Regions from separate parts of the Homo sapiens genome. Here region 2 is linked to region 1. The links are contacts of gene promoters, found by promoter capture Hi-C in blood cells and fetal thymus (Javierre and others, 2016). All regions are on one chromosome and are shown on one strand. The core of a region is centred on a gene start or on the middle of the fragment in contact, and the rest is flanking DNA. Distances in the headings are between cores, read along the strand shown. Region 1 holds the start of CR2 (complement C3d receptor 2). Region 2 overlaps MAPKAPK2 (MAPK activated protein kinase 2).

Evidence for each region. The method cuts DNA at HindIII sites, captures the fragments that hold promoters and counts their contacts. A CHiCAGO score of 5 or more calls a contact.
Region 2: a fragment that was not itself captured here is called in contact with the fragment with the promoter of CR2 in region 1 in 1 of 17 cell types (fetal thymus); the score reaches 5.6 in fetal thymus.

Annotation. Positions count from the first base shown.
Region 1 is chr1:207,450,273-207,456,762 of GRCh38, forward strand. CR2 (complement C3d receptor 2) reads left to right here and starts at 4,056. Exons shown (of 20, transcript NM_001006658.3): 1 at 4,056-4,204. The coding sequence starts at 4,147. RefSeq lists silencers at 3,895-4,124, 4,505-4,614. The HindIII fragment of the contact is 5,194 bases long and covers 2,805-6,490 here.
Region 2 is chr1:206,714,133-206,720,622 of GRCh38, forward strand. The region is part of intron 1 of MAPKAPK2 (MAPK activated protein kinase 2); the gene reads left to right. Among named protein-coding and RNA genes, the nearest start is that of MAPKAPK2, 32 kb to the left of the region's middle. The HindIII fragment of the contact is 1,256 bases long and covers 1,912-3,167 here.

The DNA.
Region 1 (6,490 bases), core at 2,806-5,305:
AGGGTCAAAGATGAACTCAGAGAAGTTAAAGGAAAGCAGATCACATTGGACTGAATGGATCATAGTTATGACATTGCCTTCTACTTTGAATGAGATAGGAAATTATTGGAGGGTTTGGAGCAGAAGGCAGTGATTTCTTTTTTCCTGACAAACATGTAAACAGGATCACTGCAAGATACTAGACACCAACACACTCATCTACAGAGGAGTTGAGTTTTTGTGTTGCTGAGAAGTGTTTATTAATAAAAATATATTTGGGAAATTTATGAGGGCAGACAAGAATAAGCATGAAAAGAATCATGAATCTAACTGTAAAATAAATGAAACAATACACGTGCAAGAAGAAAACATGGATGAATTATTGTGTAACCTGGAGAATGGTTTTTAAAACCATGGCTCCTAATCCAGATGCAATAAAAGAAAAGATTTATCAACTTGACTGCATTAAAACAGACAATGCTTACAAGGCAAAACGATGCCATAAACAAAGTCAAAAGACAACTGACAAACTGGGAGGAAACATTTGCAAAACACATCCAGAATAACAATCCTAATATATATAAATAAGTCTCAAACATTGAGAGAGGAAAAGGCAAATATACATGATAAAAATATATTTTATAAATGTTCAGCGTTACTCATAGGGAATGCAAATTAAAGCTACACTGAGATAAAATGTCTCATTTATTAGACTGACTAAAATTTAAAACCATGATGACAGCACATTAGATTAATGAGGTGCTCTCACACAGTTTTGTAGGAATATATGTGGTACAACTCTTATTAAGGAAATTTGGCAATATCTAACAAACCTACATATGTGTTTACCATTTGACCCAGCAATCCCACTTCTAGGAATTTGAACTGAAGACATGCTTCTAACAGCAGAAAAATAAATATTCACAAAGTTACTCTTTAGAGCATTAAAAACAACCAAACTGTCCATACATAGGGAGATGGTTGAATAAACTATGGCATATCCACACAGTGAAGTATTGCATGCAACTGTAAAAATGAATGAGGAATATTTGAATTTGTAGGAAATAGTGGATTCCAGCATATTTGTTAAGTTAAAAAAGAAATGTGCAAAAGAATACCTATAGCATGCTTTTAAAATGTAATAAAAAAGGAGAACTAAGAAGACAAATGTGTAGCAGCTCATTTGAGCAAAACTAAGGACAAACCAGAAACTACTGAAATTGAGTACCTATGGTGGAGAGGATAGAGGTGATGGAGAGAAGTGACATTTCCCTTTTATTGTGTCTTTTTATATCAATCTGACATTTGGGACTACGTTAATGTTTTATTTAAGCAAAAAAAAATCAAAAAGATTGAGGGGAAACTAAAATAGAATACAAAGAGAAACAAATTAACAGTATTTTGAATGAATAACAATCACACTGAAGAGGGGGAATAATCTGAGTAACTTTGGAACACAACAATGCTGTTTTTATATTTTCGGGCTATAAACAAAATAAAACTTTAAAAACGAGTAGATTTGATTTCCATCATAGTATAGAAATAGCAATTTTAAACTTCTTTCTGTGTATTCTAGGATTAAGCAAATAAGTAAATATATTGTGGATCTAGGTGTCTCACTGTTGAAGAAGGGAGTTACACATGCAGAAAGAGGGAAGGACAGAATGAACTCTATGCTAACGGACTGAAATTGGAAGAATCACTGTGAATTCATGACATATATAAATATAGATATGGGAATGGATATACATATATATATATAATACATATCCTTGCTCTGTCTGCTGAGAGGGTGCGGAAACAATGATACTCCAATAAAAATGAACACACTTAGCATCCAATTCTGGCATCTAAATGCCATTCTCTGCCAGAAAGAACCAGCATTCCTTGGAGAAACAGCAAATTCCAGTGTCAGGTCTAGAGGTGAGTCTGGAGCATTTTTTTTTGTGTGTGTGCCAGAAAGTAAGGAAGTGCTCAAAGAACAATAAGAACAAGTCAAAATGACATAGGAACTATTTTGAGGGCTCCCACTGGCCCGATCAGGGAGAATTTAAGCATCAAAATAAATAATGGTAGCCATGAATTATGACCCATTGAGTAAATAAATAAAATTCATATTGATATAGTTTATGCTGATATAGATAAATGAATAAATAAATAGAGAAGGGAAAACTTTTATTTACAGTAAAATGCCAACAGATGAATATAGAAGTAATTATTAAATTAGGAAAAAACACCCTTTGACAACCATCATAGTAAAAATTGATTCAAGAAAGGATCATCAATAGACGCTAAAATTTGTGGGTAAAAATTTGATGAAAAAATGAGGAATTTACATAGTTTTAAAGTATCTCCCTATAAAATACTTATTAATTACAAAGGGAAAAATACTGAGTCTACACTAAGAAACATGGCAGGCACCATCTTAACTAAGTGATCAAAGTTACCACCACCAGTAATAGGACAAATAGACAACATATGCCTCCCCGTAAGGATAAGACATCCTTTCTGGTATTCCTGTCAAATAATTAGATTCAATAACCTGAATCTATCATGAAGAAATGATAGACAAATCCAAATTGTGGGGTGTGATCCTGTCTCCTGACATTACCATCCACGTATACTGCCCTCCTACACTGAAAAGGGCTGATCTGTACAATCAATTGGATATTCTGGAGTTAACATATTGTGATTTCTGAGGACAGGTCACAAAGGACATTATGGCTTCTTCTTTCTTGTTCTCAGAGACGCTAGCTGGCATGTCACGAGGACACTCAACACACAAGCAGCGAGCCCTATGGCAAAATCCACGTGGTGAAGAATGAAGCTTCCAGCCAAAGGCTGGTAAGTGAGCCATCTTAGATGTGGATTCGCCTATCCCAGTTAACCCTTCAGATGACTGCACCTCCAGCTGGTGTCTTAACTGCAATCTCCTGAGCGATCCCAAGCCAGAACCACCTGACCGACCCACAGAAACTGTGAGATCATAAATGTTTATTCTTGCTTTACACCACTACCTTCAGGGTAATTTGTTATTATAATAGATAACGGACTTAAAAGTCATTCTCCAAAAATAATTGTGGTGTATTCGTCAAAAATGTAAAGGTCATGCAATACCAAAAATGCTGAGGACATTTTTCCAGAATAAAGAACTGGGGGTGGGGGGAAGGCATAATGATCAAACACAATACATGATCCTGAAATGATTCTGGACCAGGAAAAACAAAGGTTGGTTTCTATTGTTGTTATTGTTTTTACCATAACACAGGTTATTGAGATGATTGTCAAAATTTAAATACAGATGGTAGCTTATAGTCTTGTGTCAATGTTAAGTTCTTATTTTTGATCATTGCACTCTAGTTATGGAACAGAAAGTCCTTAGTGAACCATTTAGAATAGGAATAAATGCTAGATGGTTCCAAAGTAATAATTATATAATTATAATTATATAATCACATATATGTACATATATGTCTATAGAGAAAGAATAGAGAATGGTAAAGAAAATACAGCAAAATGTTAACATGCAGAGAATCTGGGTGACAAGTATATGGGAATTCTCTGCAGTACTCTTGAAACTTTTCTGTAGAGATTACTTCAAAATAAAGAACAGAGCAGAAGTGGCTGCTGTTCCTAAATTCCCTAAGTAAACTTACACTGCTTTTTCAAACTGGGAGATGAATCCACTAATAGGTTTTGAAATGAGTTTGGTGGATTTCTAATAAGAATAGGATAGCCTAGCCTAGTCTAGCATAACACAGCATGGCACAGAGGACGAACATTGTAGATTACTAAGGGTGAGTACTAACTTGTGAAAGTTTTGTTTAAGTTCTAGTAAGAGAAACAAGTGAGTGTAGTGGGTTGCGTGGTCAAAAAAGTGGGGAAGCCACCGCAACGAGGGGTGAGTCTGAGCCAAAGAGTGGCTCAGAGCTCCCCGCCCACCTCGTGCCGGGCCGTCCCTCCCGCTTGTCCCACCCTCACCGGCGCCGCGTCAGCCCCCAGGCCGCCTGCAGGTGTGCGCTCAGAACTAGCACGTGTGCCGGACACTATTTAAGGGCCCGCCTCTCCTGGCTCACAGCTGCTTGCTGCTCCAGCCTTGCCCTCCCAGAGCTGCCGGACGCTCGCGGGTCTCGGAACGCATCCCGCCGCGGGGGCTTCGGCCGTGGCATGGGCGCCGCGGGCCTGCTCGGGGTTTTCTTGGCTCTCGTCGCACCGGGGGTCCTCGGTGAGCTGGGAGGGGGAGCACGGAGGTGGGGACGCGTCCCGGGCAGGGAAAGTTTCTGTGCCGCGATGCAAAGCAGGGGGCCAAAAGCGAGACGGTGGGGGCAGTGCTCGACGCGTGTCCGCCTCCCGCTAGCTTTGAGGGACCACTGCAATAAACCGCCTGGTCCTGATTGTCCCCACTGGCCCCTCCGGGAGCTGGGACCTCCAGAATTGGAGGCTGCGCCACAGAGGGGCGCTGTCTGGTCGGCCCGGTGTGGCTGGCGGCGTGCGGGTGCTCGCGGTCTCCTGCCGGGCTCCCCGCCCCCAGGATTCTGCAGGTGCTCATCGCTCTCTGGCCGGCGGTCAGCGCTACCGCTCGCCACGGGAAACCTACCCACTGCATGAGGCACCAGCTAGCCACGTGAGGCTGTTTCTGTACACCCGAACCGCGCTCTTGCCCAGCAAAAGCGGCAGAACCTCGGCTCCCTTCCCTAAATAAGAGTAAGACCTGGTTCCCAAGCATGGGTCTCAGATTTTCTGAACTCTAATGTGATATTGGTAGAGATCCTAAACATTAACCATCCGTAGTTATTTTTGAGACATGGATTAAAACTATTGTTTTCTTCTTGTTATTAACCTACTGTAATGGTGTGGACGTCCGCAAAGGTCTCATTCACCGTTTATTATATCTTTTTTTCCTCCAGATTGGCTTGATTTTAAAGAAAGATTATAATTAAGATTAGCGTCTCTTGGCTACAGGATGGGTCTAAGTTTCTAATTATCTCCACGGTACCGTGCATTCCTAGTTTATAAGACGTTTACTGTGTGCAGACCTCAATAACTGGGTGACTTTTGGCAAGTCATTTAGCTCCCTGATCTTCAGTTTCTTCATCTGTAAAATGAAACTAGTGATTAACTGGCCTTCCACCTCACTGAGCTGCCCTGAGCACAGATGAAACTAAGCAAAGAAAGTTGGATGTTAGTCGTTACTACTAAATATCAGTAATAAGCCTCCTGTACAGACTTGATTTTATGGAGCCAGCATTTAAGCTAACAAGCTGGGTGTCCAATTGTTTCTATGGACATCCAGCTTATTGAGGTGTCTGGAATACAGCACATATTAGTTTATTACAACTTTTTGCTTTCCTGACATTTTACTGTCTCCTGACCCTTAAACCTTTCTCCAGACCATTATCTTCATCTCTTTTCTTTTTCTGCATATTAACTCCCTTTGAACAAATGTATATTCACACTTTTTCTAAGAGCAGAGTACGTCCCTGACTTCTCACCTATTTCTAAATTTCAAAGAGGATATTATCAACTGAAAATCAAATTCTTCACCAGTCCTGCCAATTCAGGGCCACAGCAGCAGCATCATGTAGGTCACTTAACTGGAGCCCCATGAAATACCAGGTCTACCTATCAGCCATTCAAGCTACTGTGCTTCTGTTGTTTGTCCATTTCTCATTTTTGTACCAGTATTCCCATCCTAAGCATTATAATTACCTGTGTAACAACCTCATCTCTTTTAAGAGATTTTGGTTCTTATGATTGGAAAGGTTAAAGAGTGACCTATAGGTCACTTTCCAATTATGAAAACAAAAAATTAAGAAATATATATATTTTCATTATTTCACTCCATTGTTCAAAAATCTAAAAGGCCTCCAGTGGAAGAAAATCTGGTGTCTTCAGCCTTTCTAGCCCTTTGGAATGGGATCTCACCGAAGCTCACACCCCCTGATTTCTCCAGCTGCCTGTCTTGTATGCGCTGCTCATGGTCTTCCCCACCTGTCTCCCATGGCTCATGCTTTGCCCACTCTCCACTGCTAACTTTTACTGCTACTGCATGCTCTCCACACATCATCTCTTGGCCAGTTCCTGCACTTGAGTGTGCTTAATAAAATACTAAAGTACCTTTATAAAATGTAGGTTCCTGGTTCCACCTCCCCCTCCAGAGGTTCATAGGTTTGGAGTTAGCACAGGAAAGCTGAGGTTTAACAATCACTCTAGAAGATTCTGCAACAAGTATCTATAGGGCACACTGCTATAAGCAAAGTCAATGGAAGCAAATTTCCTTTTTAGTGTTTTCCTATTTTTCCTTTTGTCTATTTGCATAAACAGTTTCAAATTTCCTACACTTCTAGATTTTACTCAAGCCTTCAGTGGCCACCTAACTTTATCCTATGCTGAGAAAACAAAACCATGAAACAAGAATGCTCCCATTTTCTAATCGGCTACAAACCTACCAACTTACAAACTTACCTCCATCTAGAATCAGATTTTGTTCTCCACTGCAGAAAACCTGCTG
Region 2 (6,490 bases), core at 1,290-3,789, 740 kb before region 1:
TAGATCCACCAAACAGCACTTTATTACTGGCCATTTATAACAACTGCAAATATTATCTAAATGCTTTGTCATCTCACTGCCTCCTCCTTTGTCATCCCTAAGGTCTGGGCAGGAGACTGTGTTCATATACTTCATAGAGGTCCAGACCCCTTGCGTCTGGCATTCCTTTGGTCTATAATTCAGTAAACTCTGCTAAAAAGGAAACGAGACTAGCTTGCTGTGGCCTCTTAAGCGACCCAGGGTAGCTTGTGATGGTTCAGATTATGATTTGTTCTAGAGCTTTTCCAGAGGCAGATGTTGAGGAGTTTATCCTATTTGTCCCCTTCCCTTTAAACAAACAAAAGTGCCGGCTGGACGCAGTGGCTCATGCTGGTAATCCCAGCATTTTGAGAGGCTGAGGCAGGCGGATCACCTGAGGTCAGGAGTTCGAAACTAAGCCTGGCCAGCATGGTGAAACCCTGTCTCTACTTAAAAAAAAAAAAATTAGTTGGGTGTGGTGGTGGGAGCCTATAATCCCAGCCACTCGGGAGGCTGAGGTGGGAGAATTGCTTGAATCTGGGAGGTGGAGGTTGCAGTGAGCTGAGATCACACCATTGCACTCCAGCCTGGGTAGCAGAGTGAAACTCGGTCACAAAAAAAAAAAAAAAAAGAAGTCCCAACCCCCCAGTTTTTTATATCCTCTTAGTCATCATAGTTTATTAACAGTTTTGTTTACATATTGCTTCTTTTTCCCTCTTGGCTAGACTGTGAACCTTGAAGCCCTGTGAGCTTGGTCTAGTGCCTGGAGCATTGTGGGTACCAGGTTTCGAGAGAATGTGTGCTGCCAGAAAGCAGATCTTTGCCACCTCCTCTCCCCTCAGCTCCTGAACCACTGCCAGCAGTGGTTCTGGAATCAACCTGTACTTTCCTTCTGCATCCTGGGATGTAATTCTGGGTGATTGTAAGTTGGTTTATGGTCTAGCTTAGAATTGAGGCTTCTCTTGAGAGAGAGCATGTGTGTAAATGTTTAGCTTGTTCTAGTCTGTGGAGCATTCTCCTTCATAGAAAAGATGGGAAATACTGGAGATGAAAATTCTCCATTCTCTGTCATTTTGTGTGTTAGAGTCTCTGTCCCCATCCCAGGGCCACTTCCTCCCTGGTTCTTCTTATGGCTTTGGATGTAGCTTGAAGACATGCTCCTAGCATTTTCACAAGCTCTGCTTGTTGTGTTTAGTGAGCGCAGACTACTCCCTTCGGGCCTGTCCTGGCTCATGGGCAGTTGCTCGTGTCTTTGCACACATCCTTTACTGTCTCAGCTCTTCACTTCTCCCTGACATTTGTGGCTGCCTCCTCCTGGTTTCTTCTTTAAGCGATTATTGTGTTTTAGATGATCAGAATTCACTTTTTAGAGACTTGGACCTTGTCTTTCAAAATGCATTCCCTTTTGGGATCTCTGCCCATCATACTCCTTGGTCTCAACATCTAAATATTGGTTTTTTTTTTCTTTTTCTTTCTTTCTTTTTTTTTTTTTTTGAGATAGGGTCTCACTCTGTTGCCCAGGCTGAAGTGCAGTGGTACGATCATTGGCTCACTGCAGCCTTGACCTCCTGGGCTCAGTGATCTTCCTGCCTCAGCCTCCTGAGTAGCTGGGGCCACAGGCTAGTGCCACCATGCCCTGCTAATTTTTTAAATTATTCATAGAGACGGGGTCTCCCTGTGTTGCCCAGGCTGGTCTTGAACTCCTCCTTCTCCTTTTTGTATCCTCTTAGTCATCAAGCCATCCTCCTGCCTCAGCCTCCCAAAGTGCTGGGATTTCAGTGTGATCCACTGCGCCTGACCTGAATATTGGTTTTTTTGAAGTCTAGGCTAAACAACTGTTTTTGTCTCAGTTTTTTTTTTTTTAATTTCCCTCCTTTGAACTCTGAATTGACAAGCTTACTTCCTCCCAATGTGGTGTTCTTGTTATTATTGTTTTTGCTAGCTGAAGTATTTTTTTTTTTTTTAAACATAATTTACTAGGTTTTTCTTCCTGGCCAGAAGTAAGTTCAGGGTAATAGTTCCCTTCCTTGTATCTTCAGCTGTGTGAGAGGTAATGTAGAGTGAGAATTTATTTATCAGGTGCCCTGCTCGTAGCAGAAGGCATGACCTCGACTTCTCTCTCACAGTGACCTTGTGTTTGTGTTGGTGGCTTGAACTCACTCTTGTGTCTGGGCCATTTCTCTCACTGTGTAGGAAAGAGTGGTTCCTGTCTTCTCCCTGGCCATGTAGTCTGCTGTGTGTCACCATAACAATCATCTATCTTCCGGTTCTTTTTCCTTCTCTCCTCACCCAGTTGTCTCCAGTCTTAGGCGTGTGGAATTGTGTACTGGGTGGGGGATGTGTGTGTGTGGGCCGCCCTCTTGATTTGTAGGATCCTTCTCTTCCTCCACATTCTCTGTCAACTCTCCTCCACCCCCTGTGAGATCTGTGGACTCAGGTATACGTTGCTGTGAGTCTCATTCTGCTCAGCTGGGGTGATGAAGGTGAGATTGCTTTTGTCGCTTCAAAGTAAAATTTTAGATTTGCTTTGGCAGCCGCACAGGGTCGTATGCATGGGGGCTGCTTAGGCCAGAGGCGCAGTGTTCCTGACCTCCTTCCGTCTTACTTTCTCTTGCTAGTTTGTCCATCTCTGTGGATTTTTTAAAGTAGATACTAGATACCTAGATACTACTAAGAACATGATCTTTCTCTTCTTGCCACTTGGATTTTAGCTTAAAGCCAACTTGGAACATTTAGGGTGTTTCCTTCCTACCACTGTCTGCCTGGTCTCCTAGGGAAAGATGCCTTGTATCTTGTTCTGGTGTACAGTCTGCCCATTTAATTGGTAAGTGTTTATTGTGACTCTTCTCTACTGGGCTCTGGCCCCAGGCCTGATGCGAATAGGGCAGGCCTGTGAACAGAGCAAAGACGAGTCACTTAGGAGGGGACGAGAGAGGCCAGCGGTAAACTAATATTACCAGCTCAGGGTTTATTTGTCAAAGCCTCCTTTGCTGTGAATAAAAGGTTAGATCTGAATTGGGTCTGAGTCCTGGCTTTATTACCTACTAGCCATGTGGCCTTGGGCAAATTATTAATACTTCCTTGGGCCTTGGTTGCCGCACCTGTACGATGGAGTCAGCAATGGATCCTGTTCTGTAGGGCTGCTAGGAAGCTTAAATATAGCAATATTTGCTATATATAAAGTGCACCTGGTACATAATTGATGCGGTTGAAATGAAAATTCCTCTTTCTCTTTCAGTGCCATTTGCTGGAAGAAACAGAAGAAATATCTCTGTCCCCATCTTTCAGTTTCCTACCCAAGACTCCTGTGTGGTTGACATCACTGCTGTGTGCAGTGTTCATGTCCATATAAGTCAGAAGTGGCTTGCAGCAGTGGTTTGGGGCTTTGGGGCCTCTGCTCGCTCCTTATCAATTCTTAGGGTTACATCCTCTGGGAAGATGCCAGGCCTGGTCAAGTGTGGCCTCTGACCTAGAGTTATGCAAGGCCTCTCTTCCTCCTGTGGCCAGTGTGAAATTTCTCATCTGTGCTCTCCTGCCTCTAGCAGGAAGGTTGGCCTACATTTGGGGCACATCTCTGTCACTGTCTCAGGCCAGGGGTTCAAATATAAGACCTGAATCATACTGCACCTCAGAACCCAAACCCTTTTACTTAATTTTTTTTAAAAAATTTCATTCAGATGGTAAAGGTTCAAACAATACATAGAGATATAAAACAGAAAGAAAAAAAAATACACGCCTCTCTCTAGTACCTATTCCCCAGTAGTCAACACTGCTACCTTTTTTTTGCAGGGGAGGTAAATTCCTCCAGAAAAAAACTTAAACATCTACAATTTCATATATCCTCTCCCCTCTTCCCTAAAAAACAAAACAATAACAACAAAACTATAGAAATGGGATTATGCTATATATTCTGTTCAGTACTTTTTTGTTTTTGAAAATTTAAAAAATATGCAAAAGAAGAAAATGTCATCCATATTACTACCACTTATAATTAACCACTAATTAACTTTTAGGTGTGTTTGCTTCTTGTCTTTATGAATATACTTTAAAAGCTACTTAAGTAAGGTGGAAGCAGTTCTGTTTAAAAAATTAGGATGTTGCCCGGGCGCTGTGGCTTACGCCTGTAATCCCAGCACTTTGGGAGGCCGAGGCGGGCAGATCACGAGGTCAGGAGATCGAGCCCATCCTGAATAACATGGTGAAACCCTGTCTCTACTAAAAAATACAAAAAATTAGCCAGGCATGGTGGTGGGCGCCTGTAGTCCCAGCTACTTGGGAGGCTGAGGCAGGAGAATGACGTGAACCCGGGAGGCAGAGCTTGCAGTGAGCCAAGATCATGCCACTGCAGCTCCAGCCTGGGCGACAGAGCAAGACTCCATCTCAAAAAAAAAAAAAAAAAAAAAATAGGATGTTAAAGATAAAGCCAAAGTATTATATCATCTTGGTCCTTATCTGCTTTCCCATTTAATAGCATCCTGCTCTCCCCGTCGCCGTGGATGGGGAGCTGCCTCTTTCTTCTACGACACCGCACGTTTTCCATTGTATGGATTTGCTGTCATTTCATTTATCTGACCACCCTCTTATTGGTAGGCATTTAGGTTATTACCAGTTTTTTTGCCATTAAAATGCTTTATGAATATAATGTGTAGGATGGTTTCTTGCTGGGTAATTACTGGGTCCAAGGTTTGAACATTTACAATTTTGATAGACATGGCCAAATACCTCCCCAAAAATACTAGTTTATTTCTCTACCAACTGAATGTGTAAGAGAGTGCCTTTTCTCCCCAGATCTTTGCATAAACCTGGGAGTTTTATTTTGGTCAAACATTAAAATTTTTTTTTTGCCAGTCTGGTGAAATTATCATCTTTTTTATAAACATTTCTCTTTGAGCTACACTGAGTGTCTTCCATTCAGCCATCTGTGTTTCTCTTGCTTTGAACTGCCTGTTCTTATCGTTTGGCCATTTTTATATTAGGTTGTTGATCTTCAACAATTGATTTGCCTGAGTTAAGTTAGCCTTTTATCCATCATGTGTTGGAAATATTTTAAAGATTTGTCATCTACAGTGCGATTTTTAGGCCTCTTGACTTTTTGTTGAGCCCTAGGCTTTTGTGACTGCCTGTGACAGCTCTGGAGAGGGGGCCGACAGGCACAGTGGCCCGCAGTCGAGCCAGGCCCCATCTTCTGGGCAGTGACGCGTGGTTGTTTTAAGGCTTTTGGTACTGGGATTCCCCGTTGTAAGTTTTAGCTTTGTTTTGGGTAGGGACTTTTCCCCATCATATTAATGAACATTAATAACAAATAGAGACTTGCTTTTGCCTCCCAACCAAATGTTTGGGAATGTGTGCACCCACGTGAAGGGTCTGTGTGATATCTTTATCTCATCAACCTTCTAAGGCTTTTAAAACCTGTTGTTAGATTTATGTTTAGATCATGGTTCTAGGGGAGAACCATCGTCACTCCTCATTGAGCTTTGCAGAGGCTCTGAAAGGAGGACATACTCTCTTCCCCAATCAATGTAGAGGAACGTCAGTAGTTCAGCCAAGATTGCTCTATCTGCCACCTCTTATGCTTCCAAGCTGGGCTAATTGAGAAGTGTGACATCTTGCTCCAGCCTATAAGCAGCTGTCTGTAATTTTGAGAGATGAGAAGGATTCTCCCTTAAACCATTGCTGCTTTTGTGGCAGCATCTTATTTCTTTCCTTTGCAGCACAAATCACAGTGTATAATTAAAACTATTTTCTTTGAGCTTGTTTTTGGTGTACCTCCTGCACTAAAATGTTAAGTTCTGTGGCGGTCACGGGGCTTATTTGTCATGTTCTCTATTATACCCTTGGCATCCTCTAAACCAGTGTGTGGCACATGCTAGGCACTCCGGGGTTTCACTGAGTGATCCATTCTGTTAGGATGGGATCAAGTGCTCATGTGTCTCCTCCTGTGTCCCTCTCTGGCTCCAGATCTTCCACCTGGCAGAGTTTCCGGAAGCCCCAGAGATATGCTCCATGGCCATAGGGCCTGAGACGTGGATGGCTGCCCTCTGACTAAAATTTAGAGAGCTAAGCTTGTCTCTTTAAAAAGTAACATATACTAATTGTAAATCACCTAGAAAATACAGACATAATAAAGGAAATTAAATCTGTGATTCTGTCTTTCAGAGATCATTACCATTAACAACTCATTGAGTCTTAATGCCTTTATTGTTTTTGTTTTGTTTTGTTTTGTTTTGTTTTTGAGACAGAGTCTCACTCTGTTGCCCAGGCTGGAGTGCAGGCTCACTACAACCTCCGCTTCCTGGGTTCAAGTGATTTTCCCACCTCAGCCTCCCAAGTAGCTGGGATTGCTTACAGGTGCGTGCCACCATGCCTGGCTAATTTTTTTGTATTTTTTGATAGAGACAGGCTTTCAGCATGTTGGCCAGGCTGGTCATGAACTTCTGACTTCAAGTAATCTGCCCCCCTTGGCCTCCCAAAG